Linked DNA regions of Homo sapiens: all the other regions are linked to region 1. The links are contacts of gene promoters, found by promoter capture Hi-C in blood cells and fetal thymus (Javierre and others, 2016). All regions are on one chromosome and are shown on one strand. The core of a region is centred on a gene start or on the middle of the fragment in contact, and the rest is flanking DNA. Distances in the headings are between cores, read along the strand shown. Region 1 holds the start of SNRPE (small nuclear ribonucleoprotein polypeptide E). Region 2 has its middle 2.7 kb from the start of PPP1R15B. Region 3 has its middle 8.2 kb from the start of LINC00628. Region 4 overlaps MDM4 (MDM4 regulator of p53).

The links. Contacts are between HindIII fragments. The CHiCAGO score rates a contact against its expected background, and 5 or more counts as called.
Region 2: a fragment that was not itself captured here is called in contact with the fragment with the promoter of SNRPE in region 1 in 1 of 17 cell types (non-activated CD4 T cells); the score reaches 6.6 in non-activated CD4 T cells.
Region 3: a fragment that was not itself captured here is called in contact with the fragment with the promoter of SNRPE in region 1 in 1 of 17 cell types (naive CD8 T cells); the score reaches 5.0 in naive CD8 T cells.
Region 4: a contact is called between a fragment that was not itself captured here and the fragment with the promoter of SNRPE in region 1, in 2 of 17 cell types (megakaryocytes and erythroblasts). The highest score is 6.4, in megakaryocytes.

The regions. Positions count from the first base shown.
Region 1 is chr1:203,859,770-203,862,982 of GRCh38, forward strand. It overlaps SNRPE (small nuclear ribonucleoprotein polypeptide E), which reads left to right and starts at 1,830. Exons shown (of 5, transcript NM_003094.4): 1 at 1,830-1,944; 2 at 2,427-2,453. The coding sequence starts at 1,891. RefSeq lists enhancers at 1,612-1,906, 1,715-1,974, 2,360-2,935. The HindIII fragment of the contact is 9,598 bases long and covers 1-3,213 here.
Region 2 is chr1:204,412,955-204,416,013 of GRCh38, forward strand. No RefSeq gene overlaps it. Among named protein-coding and RNA genes, the nearest start is that of PPP1R15B, 2.7 kb to the left of the region's middle. The HindIII fragment of the contact is 510 bases long and covers 1,467-1,976 here.
Region 3 is chr1:204,376,241-204,379,496 of GRCh38, forward strand. It overlaps a transcript of PLEKHA6 not described here. Among named protein-coding and RNA genes, the nearest start is that of LINC00628, 8.2 kb to the left of the region's middle. The HindIII fragment of the contact is 4,972 bases long and covers 1-3,256 here.
Region 4 is chr1:204,541,583-204,544,848 of GRCh38, forward strand. MDM4 (MDM4 regulator of p53) reads left to right here. Exons shown (of 11, transcript NM_002393.5): 8 at 1,202-1,362; 9 at 2,953-3,102. Among named protein-coding and RNA genes, the nearest start is that of LRRN2-AS1, 21 kb to the right of the region's middle. The HindIII fragment of the contact is 4,009 bases long and covers 1-3,266 here.

The DNA.
Region 1 (3,213 bases), core at 580-3,079:
TATTGGCCAGGCTGGTCTCAAACTCCTGACCTTGTGATCTGCCTGCCTCAGCCTCCCAAAGTGCTGGGATTTACAGGCATGAGCCACTGTGCCCAGCCCTGGCTGAAATTTTTTAAAGGAAATAGTTATCCCATGCATTTGCCAGCTTTGTGTAGTTTATTTATTTATTTATTCTTATTTATTTTTTTGAGACGGAGTCTCGCTCCGTCACCAAGGCTGGAGTGCAGTGGCATGATCTCGGCTCACTGCAACCTCTGCCTCCTGGGTTCAAGTGATTCTCCTGTCTCAGTCTCCCAAGTAGCTGGGATTACAGGCATGTGCTACCATGCATGGCTAATTTTTGTATTTTTAGTAGAGACAAGGTTTCACCATGTTGCCCAGGCTGGTCTCGAACTCCTGACCTCAGTTGATCCACCTGCCTCGGCCTCCCAAAATGCTGGGATTACAGGCGTGAGCCTGGCCGCTTTGTGTAGTTTAAAAATCACTTTCAACTCAACCCCTTTCTGAAGTCGTTATTACTATTATCCCCATTAAACAGAAGCCCTCAGAAAAGCTAATTTTGATTCTGCCATTTGCCCTAATCCGTGTTCCCTTAGGCAAGTCCTTTCAAAAGTCTAAACTTCAGTTTCCTCCTCTATAACATGTGTATGCCAATTAAGTGAAATCTCTGCCAGGCCACAAGCCATGACACAATGGAAAGGTAGGTGGACTTTGGGGTCAGGCACACCTACAAATTCCAGCTGCTCCACTTAGTAGCTGTGTTATCCAGGGAAGGACATGTTCTGACACTGGCTGACGCCTAACTGTGTGCACACATAGACAATTATTTCATTGAATCTTTAAGCCCCTGAGTAAAGTTAATCTTTACTATAATCTCCGTTTTGGAAACTAAGCCAAGACATGGCGAGGCTGAGTAATTTATCCTTGGTCACCAACTCTAAAAGAGCTGGATTTGCGCCCAGCATGTGGATTTCAGCGTCTTCCTGGTAAATCGCCACCCTCAGTTGCCACCTGAACAGTAACTCTCCACGAAATGGATGAGAATTGAATCCGTAACTGGAGGGAACCAGGCGTCTGGCTTTGGAATGCAGACCGCCTCTGGCCGACTGCCAGAGGTGGGAGGCCTGAAGTTTGGGCTCCTTGCCGCCCTACCCTTTCCACCACAACGCTGCTATCAAGCCTAAACTCCAGCAAAATAGGCTTTAGGAAAGGCACGAAATTAACTCATTTTACACATAGAGATACACACTGGGACGATTTTGGCTTTTCAAGCTAACTCAGAAAATGGAGATACAGGCCGGGCGCGGTGGCTTACGCCTGTAATCCCAGCACTTTGGGAGGCCGAGGCGGGCGGATCATGAGGTCAGGAGATCGAGACCATCCTGGCCAACATGGTGAAACCCCGTCTCTACTAAAAACACAAAAAATTAGTCGGACGTGGTGGCAGGCGCCTGTAGTCCCAGCTACTCGGGAGGCTGAGGCAGGAGAATCGCTTGAACCCTGGAGGCTGAGGTTGCAGTGAGCTGAAATCGCGCCACTGCACTCCAGCCTGGGCGACAGAGCGAGACTTCGCCTCAAAAAAAAAAAAAGAAAAGAAATTGGAGACAGGACGGCACTCCTCCTACCACGGCCACTATACAACCGAAGGCACCTCCTCCCGCCTCCCTCCAGGTGGCGCTGTAGGACCGGCCCACCTTCCACAGCGCAGACGCCTCAGTTTGGCCTCCCTCGGAGGCCATGCAGCGAAGAAACGTGACTTCATGGCTAGAGGGGCATTTCCCAGGAGCCGCCCATGCCGCCGCGTGACCTTCACACTTCCGCTTCCGGTTCTTTATTCCGGAAGTTGCTCTCAGAGGCAGCGTGCGGGTGTGCTCTTTGTGAAATTCCACCATGGCGTACCGTGGCCAGGGTCAGAAAGTGCAGAAGGTTATGGTGCAGCCCATCGTATCCTACGCAGGATGTCAGGACTAGGAGGTTCGGGTCAGAATACGGGGTGCGAAGGCGCAGGCTGAGGGCAGGCCTGGGATAGTGGAGTACGGATCCACATCCCATGAGCCCCCGGGGCTACCAAGACTGGAAGAAAGCGCGGGTAGTTGAACCGTGATGGTGGGGAGGTGGTCTTGGGGGGACCCCTGCCGTGGGGAATGCAGGAATGGACGCGGCAAAAGGAGGGAAGAGAACTTCAGGTGCGGAGTGAAAACGGGAGTTAACGGTTTTGGGAAACTCCAGGGGGATGAAAGTGGAATGGATGTTCTTTAGTCTTTAGAAGACCCGTAACGAATGCCCAGCTGGGCACTTGTTGTTTGCGTAAGCACCAGACCTCGCGTTTAGTAAACAAAGGTGAGACGGGAATAGCGTCGTCCGGTTGTTTCAGGAAGCAGAGTCTATGCTGCTTTTGTATTTTTTCCTTAGCCACTGTGGTGCAGAACCTCATCTTCAGATACTTACAAAATGTACGTAAGTTGCTTGTTTCGTAACTACTTTTTAAATAAGAGGTGAACTGATTTAGTTTTTTGTGTTAACCTGAGCGATCGCTGTGTTCTAGAATTTAAAAATAGATGTAACTGGAGATTGGAGGGTAATTGAGGGGAAGGAGTACTTAGAAAGCACTAATGTGATGAAGTGGTGTGTATCCATGCCACTTCCCAACATGCAAAGAATTGTATCCATTACTTTGCAAGATCAAAAATACTTTTTAATTCCAAAAAGTATTATTAGCAGACTTGACCATGGTATTTGGGCATCAGTAGTTTTGTTAGTAGTGATTATGGCTAGAACATTGGAACCTCTCCCCTTTAGGATGAAACATTGGAAGAAAAACCCAGCCAACTTAAACCATGTCAAGAGGTGGTGTGTTTAATACCTGTGGGAAAACTTAAAGACGAAAAAAGGAAGAGAGAAGGGGTAGCTTCAGAGGAGTTTAGTGGCAGCTGCTTTCCTTTGAGGGAAATTTTAGCAACTTAAATTTTATAGTGTGATAACACAACTGAAAAACATTAATTTCAGGTGATAATAATTCTTAACCACCTGAATTGAGGGCTCCTGTCCTAGTTGTTAGGTGTGTGACATGAGAAGGCTTTGTTTTGGAACTGGATTTTGCTGCAGGAGATAAGCCCTTGGTCATTAGAAATTACTGCTTTGTGCTATGCTGTCAAAAACTTTCACTCTTAATAGATTGAGACCAGAAGCAGTAAGAAATATTGAGTCCCAAAA
Region 2 (3,059 bases), core at 472-2,971, 550 kb after region 1:
CAGCCTCCCAAAGTGCTGGGATTACAGGCGTGAGCCACCGTGCTCGGCCAATTTTTGCATATTTTTATAGAGACAGGGTTTCGTCGTGTTGCCCAGGTTGGTTTCAAACTCAGCTCAAGTGATCTGCCCGCCTCGGCCTCCTAAAGTGCTGGGGTTACAGGCGTGAGCCACTGCGCCCAGCCTGACAGATATTTCAGGGTTCTCCTATTGTTCAGTACTATGTAGACCATCAACCTGAGATCTTATGTAAAAGTTGGGCAGTGCTGCGTACATACATGTCTGGTGTGGGGCAAACTAAACTCACAGAGAAGCAGCTCAGTCCCCAGAACTATTTACTCTCTTTTATGCTTCCAAGCAGGCAACATATTCAATTCATATTTATTAATACTTCCTTAGCAACCAGAACCACAGAATACAACAGCCAAAAAGGAAACATGGACCACTATCCTTTGAAAAAAAAAATGGCTGGTAATTTTAATTGCTGTATTTGATTATCTCTTGTGAGTTTGGTCTTAGTTCATTTCTTTATTTCTGCTAAAACTCTGTAATAGATACCCCTGAAGTCAAGTACCAATTACAGAGGGAGGGTGGCAGTTATGAGCACTAGGGACAGCAGAAAAATCTTTAGGGAGCTGGGAGGAGACCAGCAGCTCCTCCTGCCTTACTGGGCCTGTTCAAGGAACAACCACTTCTTTTTTTCTTTTTTGAGACGAGTCTCGCTCTGTTGCCCAGGATATAGTGCAGTGGTGTGATCTCTGCTCACTGCAACCTCCGCCTTCCTGGGTTCAAACTATTATCCTGCCTCAGCCTCCCTAGTAGCTAGGACTACAGGCACATGCCACCACGCCCGGCTAATTTTTGTATTTTTAGTAGAGACGGAGTTTCACCATGTTAGCCAGGATGGTCTCAATTTCCTGACCTTGTGATCTGCCCGCCTCAGCCTCCCAAAGTGCTGGGATTACAGGCGTGAGCCACCACGTTCGGCACAACCACTTCTTTCTAGGAAGCCAAGAGGACCTCAGTTTCTGTTGTTTATCCTGTATTATTATCCATACCTCTGGAAAATCTCAATCCTATGAACTTCAGAAAAATGTATTAATAATAGAGGTCAGTTTCATAATACAGATCCAAGTAGGCAAATTTGTTACCAGAAGCCTGTTTCTTGTAAAGTGAGGCTAGTAATTCCTCTTTCAATGGATTGGTAAGAAAACTAAGTTTTCTCAGTGCCTAGCCTAGACAGAGTAGGAGCACAAAGATTAGCTAATATTCTTGTGTGGTTCTGCTTTACAGTCTTCAGTTGTTTCCTCATTGCCTGCAGAATAAAGGCTCTATGCAGCCTGCCCTCCCACTGTACTCTTCCAGCCTCCTCTGTCACTTGTCTTCATGCATGTTATATTCTAGGAACATTGGACTTACCTGTACTCCTTGCTTCCTGCCTTTACTCATGCTGTTTCTCAGCCAAGAAAAGCTTCACCTTTCCTGTTACATACCTACTCATCCTTCAAGATCCAATTCAAATGTCAGCTTCTCCTTGAAGCCTTCATTGACCTTTCCAGCCAGAATTAATGGATCCCTCACAGTACTTATATTATTCCGCTCTATTAGAGCACTTAACACATTGCATTACATATACCTGTAAGTATTCTCTCTTGCTGGTCCCTGAATTCCTTGAGGGCTGTATCCAACTATCTAGAAAAGTGGTTCCCAAAGTATGGTCTGGGCACCCCTGGGGATCCTCCTTTGAAACCCTTTCAGAGGGTCCTTAAGGCCAAAAATATTTCCATAATAATTCTCAGCTTTTTTAACTCTCATTTTCTCATGTATGTACAGTGAAGTCTTCTGGAAGATACATGGTGTGTGAACTGTCAACAGAATGAATGCAAAAGCAGATAGATACGAGATTCTAGCTGTTTTATATTAAGCCAGATACTAAAGACATTTGGAAAAAATGTAAGACAATGCCACTTTTCTCACTAAGCTTTTTATGTTTTGAAAAATAATTGAACATTACCAGCCTGGGCAACATGGCAAAACCCTGTCTCTACAAAACATACAAAAATTAGCCAGGCATGACGGTGCACGCCTGTGGTCCCAGCTACTCAGGAGGCTGAGGTGGGAGGATTGCTCAAGCCTGGGAGGCAGAGGTTGCAGTGAGCCAAGATTGTGCCACTGCACTCCATCCTGGGCAACAGAGTGAGATCCTGCCTCAAAAAAAAAAAAAAAATTAACATGTAATTGGTTATTTTTAAATGAATTTTAAAATTTTATTGTATTTTTCATTAAAGACAGAGTTTCATATGTTGCCCAGGCTGGAGTGCAGTGCGTATTCACAGGGGCAATCACAGCACACTATGGCCTTGAACTCCTGGGCTCAAGCAATCCTCCTGCTTCAGCCTCCCAAGTAGCTGGAACGACAGGTGCACACCACCACACCCAGCCTAAATGAACATTTTTCAGTTCCTCGGTCTTGAATTCATAAATAGGAAATATTGATAGCTATAAACCACATAAAGGTATAAAGATAGTTATTTGGGGTCCTTAGTAATTTTTTTTTGAGACAGGATCTTGCTGTATTGCCCAGGCTGGAGTGCAGTGGTGCAGTCACGGCTCACTGCACCCTTGATCTCCCAGGCTTAAGCAGTCCTCCCACCTCAGCCTCCCAAGTTGTTGGCATAGCAGGTGTGTACCACCACACCTGTTGTTTTTTTTTTTTCATTTTATTATTACATTTTTGAGATGGAGTCTTGCTCTGTTGCCTATGCTGGAGTGCAGTGGTGTAATCTCAGCTCACTGCAACCTCCACCTCCCAGGTTCAAGCGATTCTTCTGCCTCAGCCTCCCAAGTAGCTGGGATTACAGGCACCCACCACCATGCCCGGCCAATTTTTATATTTTTTTAGTGGAGACTGTTTCACCAGGTTGCCCAAGTTGGGGTTTTTTTTCTTTTTAGTAGAGATGAGGTTTTGCCATGTGGCCCAGGCTGGTCTCAAACTCCTGAGCTCAAGCAATTTGCCTGCCTCAGCCTCCCAAAGTGCAGGGATTACAGACATGAGCCAGCAC
Region 3 (3,256 bases), core at 394-2,893, 520 kb after region 1:
CATCAGTATACCTGAGGGGCTCATGGAAATTCACATTCTAAGACCCTACCCCAGATCCTCTGAATAGGAATCTCCTGAGGTAGGGCTCAGGAATCCACCTTCTTAATAAGTTCCTTGGGTGATTCTTATAAACTCTAATGTCTCTAGCCACTGCAGTTTTAATATTGCAGAGGTTCTGTTATTTAAGAATCTGACTTAGGGTCAAGAACTTTAATGGAGTTAATTTCTAAGATAATATAATTACAACATCAATTATGATCATGGTGGTGATAATTACAGAACAAAGGCCTAAAGCAAATGTGGAAACTTAGAAACACCAAAGAGAAACTACTGCCTGCCTGAGCCCCTGCAAAGGCAGTTTGGTACCTGGGGAAGCAGTGCACTAAGTCAGCAGATGCGGGGCTGAGTCCCAGCTCTGATTAACACGTGGTTTTCTCTTAGACCGGTACTTCAATATCTCTGGACCTCAGTTCCCCATTTGACAAATGAAGGGGTTGTTTCTAAGATTCCTTGTAGCTCCGATGTTTTTAAGTGGCTATCTTGAGGAAGGAAAAGCTCGTCAAGTGTGGGTAACAGTCCAAGACGCTGTGCTTCTAGACTTGCTATATTTCTGGAAGATGTCTATCCTGGCAAAAGATGACTATAGTAGAAGCGAGCCAAAAGACAGCCAGCAGGGCCACTTTGTTATAATGAGATTATGCCAGAGCCACTTTGGCTTATGAAATTAATATAACAGTGCTAATATATTACTGAGAGTAGCAAAGGCGCGCTCTCTCTCAAGAATGCCAAACATACAGTGGGCATCGTCCCCCTCCCTCTTGACCACAGCCCCATAAAGAAGCAGGACAGGAGAGGAGAACTGCTGTCCTGGGCACGCTGAGTCTGGGGCGAGGGTTGCCAGGAACTGAGTGGTAGAGGCAGGATCTCCTGGTATGTTGTCACTTAGCCCAAGTCTTCCCATAGGAAAGTCTCGGGGAAAATGAAAGACCTACCTCTGGCCCTTTCAGGGAAGGAGCTGAAAAAACTCCAGGCTGGGCATTGGTCTAGTCATCCTCCTGGAGGCCTCGCATGTGACCAGGGAGAGGGAGAAAGGGCAGCACTCCCCTGCCCTGCCCAGCCTTTCCAAGCTGAGGGAATGCCAAGCCTTTGCTGGACTTTGACCCATTGAGGAAAAGGCGGGAGACACATTCAAACAGGCATGGTGATAAACTTATTAGTCATGCCCGCCCTTGTAGCCACCGCTTCACCCACCTTCTCCGGCCTGCCCCCAGCCCCGCCACTTTTCAAGTTGGGCAACTTAATGGAAAAAAATGAAATAAAAAGAAGAGCGAGACCAACATACTTGATGAAGAAGATTCTCCCACCGCCGTCAACTCCGTAGGCCCACCGGCCGGGCAGGTCCAGCCAGTCAATCTCATCGGCCATCTCGGTGTCCCTGCAGCCCCTCTCGCTCTCTGCGCCCCCAGGCGCCGGCTGGGCAGGGGGCTTGGTACCCGGGAACCCCCACTTGCTGCCCCCTTCCAGAGGCCGTGGTGGGGGAGGGGGTCCGGCCGGGCTGGCGGCGTCGCTCCCGGGTCCCTGGCAGTGTGGCTGGCCTCCCCACTGAAGACGCGCTGGCCTCAAGCCGGGCGGCAGGGAGCAGGCAAGCGCTTAACCCTGGCCGGCCGGGAGCCCCAGACACCACCTGCCTCCTCGTCGACTCGGGAGCTCCTCTTCGGACCGTTTCCTGAACTTTAATGACGGGCAATTAGCGCGGTGAGTAATTACGATGCCTCTCCTGCCGGGACTGTTAACGGGCAGCGCTGGGTCTCCGTTCCTCCTGGCTCTGCTGCCCTCCAGCCTGGCGGAGCCCGGAGAGCAGAAGCTGGAGCGGGGAGGATCCCTCCCCGAAGGGAGCAGGTTGCAGTGCGAGCAGGGGTGTTGCCTCTCCGCTCCCAGCTCCGATCTTGCACTTGAACCACCGGCGGGGCCGGGGGCGGAGCCGCGCCGCCGCCTCGGAAGGTAATTCACAGCCCCGAGAACTCGCCGGCAGCGCCAAGTCCCCCAGTCCAGGCGCACCGCGCAGAGAACCAGTTTGACTAAAAGAGCTTTGAATCAGGAACCTGGTGGACATGTCCAGCCACTGAACGGAAAAGGGGAAGTGATTAAACCTGGTTCTACTTGGTGGGAGGTTAGGAGAGGAACAAAGGTCAAAGGCACGGAAGCGTGGCGGGGCTGTGAGCAGCGAGGGGCCCGGGGAGCCTCTCCTAGCTCAGATGCCAGCCTGATTAGTCGAGCTAGTCCTTACCTTTCTTTCCCAGCACCTCCTCCAAGAAGTCTGCCATGACTAAGTAGAATCACAGGGAGACCTTAGAAATACTCAGAAACCAACAGCGTTTATGTCCCTCCATTCCATTCCCCCTAACTTGCACCAGAAATGGAAAAGGAAAAAGGAAGAAAAATGGAGAGAGAAGGGAATGTGTTATGTGTACAGAATGCAGACTGCAAGCATTTCATACTGGCATACCAAAAGCAGTATTGCTGGAGCCCACAGTTCTGCTATCTCAGGGTCTATATCAAAGTTAGCCAGCTTAGGCAACATAGCAAGACCCTGTCACTACAAATAATAATAATAATTAATTAGCTGGATCTGGTGGCACGAGCCTGTAGTCCCAGCAACTCAGAACACTGTCAGGAGGATCACTTTGAGCCGGGAGGTCGAGGCTGCGGTGACCTATGATCCTGCCAGTGTACTCCAGCCTGGGCAACAGAGCGAGACCCTGTCTCAAGAAAGAAAAAATGCTGAAGTCCATTTGGCTTTCCCAGCTTACTCCGGATCTGCCACTGGGGCTCCAGTTAGGTACATACAGTTCCAATCCATGTGCCAGGCCCAGGAGAATAATTAGACGATGAGAGAGACACCTGTGTTTAAAGGGAGCAATGTGTTCCATGACAGCTGGCAATTATCTGTTGGGCAAACATACGTTTTGTGAGCATTCCAGGAGACTTGATCCCCATTCCACATAGGTAATTCCTACTCATCCTTTCAGTGTCTACCCATGTGCCACCTCCTCCAGGAAGCCATTCCTGACACTACCCCGGAGAGATTTATATGTCCATCCTCCATGTGTCATGGCACCTGATGAATAACCCTATAGTAGCACTTATCACACTGTAATGCAATCCTTGATTTAGTCATCTGTCTCCTCCATTGGACTGTGTGCTCCTTGGGGCAGGAACTCCATCTTATCCATCTTTACAGCCCTGGCAGCTGCCT
Region 4 (3,266 bases), core at 130-2,629, 680 kb after region 1:
AGGAAGACCTATAGGTAGAAGGGACAGAATTTTTATTTGTGGAAAGAATGACCTATTTTCATTTCCTTCATAAGTTGTAGAGCTCGAGTAGGGAAGAATAACTTTAATATGGCACCATTTCAAGAATTTGGCTTCTGATAGTTTCAATAATGAATAAGTGGAAACATAATTGAAGTTTCCCTGGCCACAGATAAGCCTTTTAGTCAGCAATATTGACATAATTTATAAGTAAATAGGGTAACCTTATGTTCTGGCAAGGACCCATGTATTGCAGAAATTCTTTCACCATATGTACTTCAGCACACGTTAACCCCATGGTTGCTATGGGCAGGCCTAATGTATTGGGAGGAGGTAGAAGAGAATGAGAAAGTAAGAAAGGAGCAGTAGAGCCCAACAAAAGACTGGAGTATGGGAAAGAAAAGAGTATCATGTGATAACAACAGACTTATGTTAATTAGCTGCCCTCAGTGTCATTCAAATGTACAATGTGAGATCTTTTACTTGAAATAACGTGGGGTCTTAGTATTTGTGGTATGTCTAGATACTTAACTCTAAGAGCCCATTGATCCAGCGAGGGCATATGTATGTATTTGGACAACCTAGAGTTTAGTGTTTTATAGTGGTTGTTACCTACTAAAACATACGAATTATTGAGAATTGACCCAGAATATGTGGTACCAGTGAGATTGCCTGGACAACCTTGTGATCACCTATTATGGTTTGTATTGCCTTGCTTTGATCTTAAGGGTTAGACCACTATGTTACCATCATTTGCAATGCTGTTAATCAAACTATTATCAGGCACTATGTACTAGAGCAAGTAATTCTATAGTTTATACATGGTAGGAGTGTTTAAAATACCAGTAAATGCCCATTTAGAAATTCTTTTAGCACAAGGTCATTGTTCAGATGCTTTTAGAGTCTTTTTTTTTTCCTGTCTTCTCATAGAAGACAATGCTTTTAGAGTTTAAACTTGATAAACGATGATCTGTTTGTAGTGTCATTACTTGCTAATGAAGTCTAAACAAGGGAGGAGATTTGAGCTCTGCCACTAAGACAGATACTTGATTTCTGGTTCTTTCTTTCTTAGAACAGGAATTTCTTTTTACCTATTTTATAAAGAAGTTTTAAGTATTCTAAAGATAGTCTTAGTTATTACGTATTGTGCATAGTTATCATTCTTTTCATTTGACTTCTATAGATGAAGACTTAATTGAAAATTTAGCCCAAGATGAAACATCTAGGCTGGACCTTGGATTTGAGGAGTGGGATGTAGCTGGCCTGCCTTGGTGGTTTTTAGGAAACTTGAGAAGCAACTATACACCTAGAAGTAATGGCTCAACTGATTTACAGACAAATCAGGTAAATTTCACATTTGAAGGGAAGTGGTTTTTTTTCTTTTGAAAGGGTAACATTCTTGGTTACTCTTGACCACACATTATATTCTCTAAGAATTCTTATTTACTCCTATGGCGTTAAATACCATCTGTATGCATGTGATACCCAAATCTGTATCTCTAGTCCTTACCTCTTCCCTAAATGCCCAACTTCAGTTTCCAGATGCCTATTTAACTAACAACTCTACTTAGAGGATTTGACATTGAACAATTTCAAAATGGAGCCTTTGGCTGTGCGTAGTGGCTCATGCCTGTAATCTCTGGGAGTCCCAGCCTATAACACTGGGAGGCCGAGACAGGAGGATTGCTTGAGCCCAGGAGTTTGAGACCAGCCTAGGCAACATAGACACCATTTTTACAAAAAATTAAAAATTAGCCAGGCGTGGTGGCGTGCGCCTGTTTTACTATAGTAATAACTGATTCAGCCCCCTCCTTCCTCACTTCCTGTCATTCTTCTTTGTTCACTACATGCGTTTTGGATATACTAGGCTCCTTTCTGACACTGTAGCCCAAAATTGCTGCCTTCCTCAGGCACCTTAAGTTTGTTCTTTACTCTTTCTGGAACACTGTTCCCCCACATTCTTTCTTTGCCTTCTCATGATTTAGGACTCACCTCAAATGTAATTTCTTCAAAGAGGTCATCCCTGGCCACAAAGGCTATTATGTTACACAGTTCCAGTAGGATCCATTCGCTTTTTGTTTTGGAGCTGTGTAGCTATAGGTGGTGGCCCTGCCAAACCCATCCCTAGTTAAAATAGCCTCCTCTCTAGCCACTCTTCTCTTTTATCCTATTTTATTCTCCATAGTACTTCTCACTTTGTAAAAATATTGCTATATTTTATGTATGTGTTGTCTGTTTACCACTGAAATGTAAGGCCAGGGCTTTTGTATTATTCACTACTTTTTCCATTACCTGGTACCTAGAACAGTATGTGGCACATAATAGGTATTCAGTGAGTATTTGTTTAATAAATGGATGAGTATTTAATAGTGTGCAAAATAATAAATTGTCTCTCATGAATGTTGTAGAAAAGCATGTCATGAAATATTCATAGATGAATGCAGAAGGTTAGTTCTATATGGAGTTCAGAAAGTGTCAGGACAAAAGGTTTGGGTGACCATCAGTATTTCTCATATTTCTTTAATAAACATCCTTGACCATTTTAAGGGAAAGAATATGTCAGAACTAATGGAATGTTTTGTAGCTTCTTAGAGTGTCACCTGTAGAAGGGAATTTAGGGAATAGATTCTATTTACTTGAGCAACTACAAGTCCTTACCTTTTAAACTCTTCAGTACTGTTTCTTAGGTGTTATACCTGATTTAGTGTTAAAAGAGAAAAGTCCATGCCTGACACCATTATATCCATCCATTAGTTTATCCACAGTAGGTGTCAAGTAGATATATGTTGAATGAATACATGTCCACTGAATAAAGGCAAGATGTTCTTTGGCGATGTAGTGTGACGACATTGAGTTTTGGGTTCATTTGTGTTGTTTCAACATCTCTGATAAACCTCTGAATACAGAAACTCATGTTTGTTTTTTTTCTGTTAGGATGTGGGTACTGCCATTGTTTCAGATACTACAGATGACTTGTGGTTTTTGAATGAGTCAGTATCAGAGCAGTTAGGTGTTGGAATAAAAGTTGAAGCTGCTGATACTGAACAAACAAGTGAAGAAGTAGGGAAAGTAAGTGACAAAAAGGTATGTTGTGGAAAAATTCCATGTTGATTCTGTTTGTGTGCTCATAGTATCATCTGTTGAGATTTCTTTGTATCTGTTTTTACAACAGATTGCTCACATAATCCCCTTTTTAACTTTAATTAATTTTTCAATCCAATTTTAAGATTCACATTAAGTAATGTTAA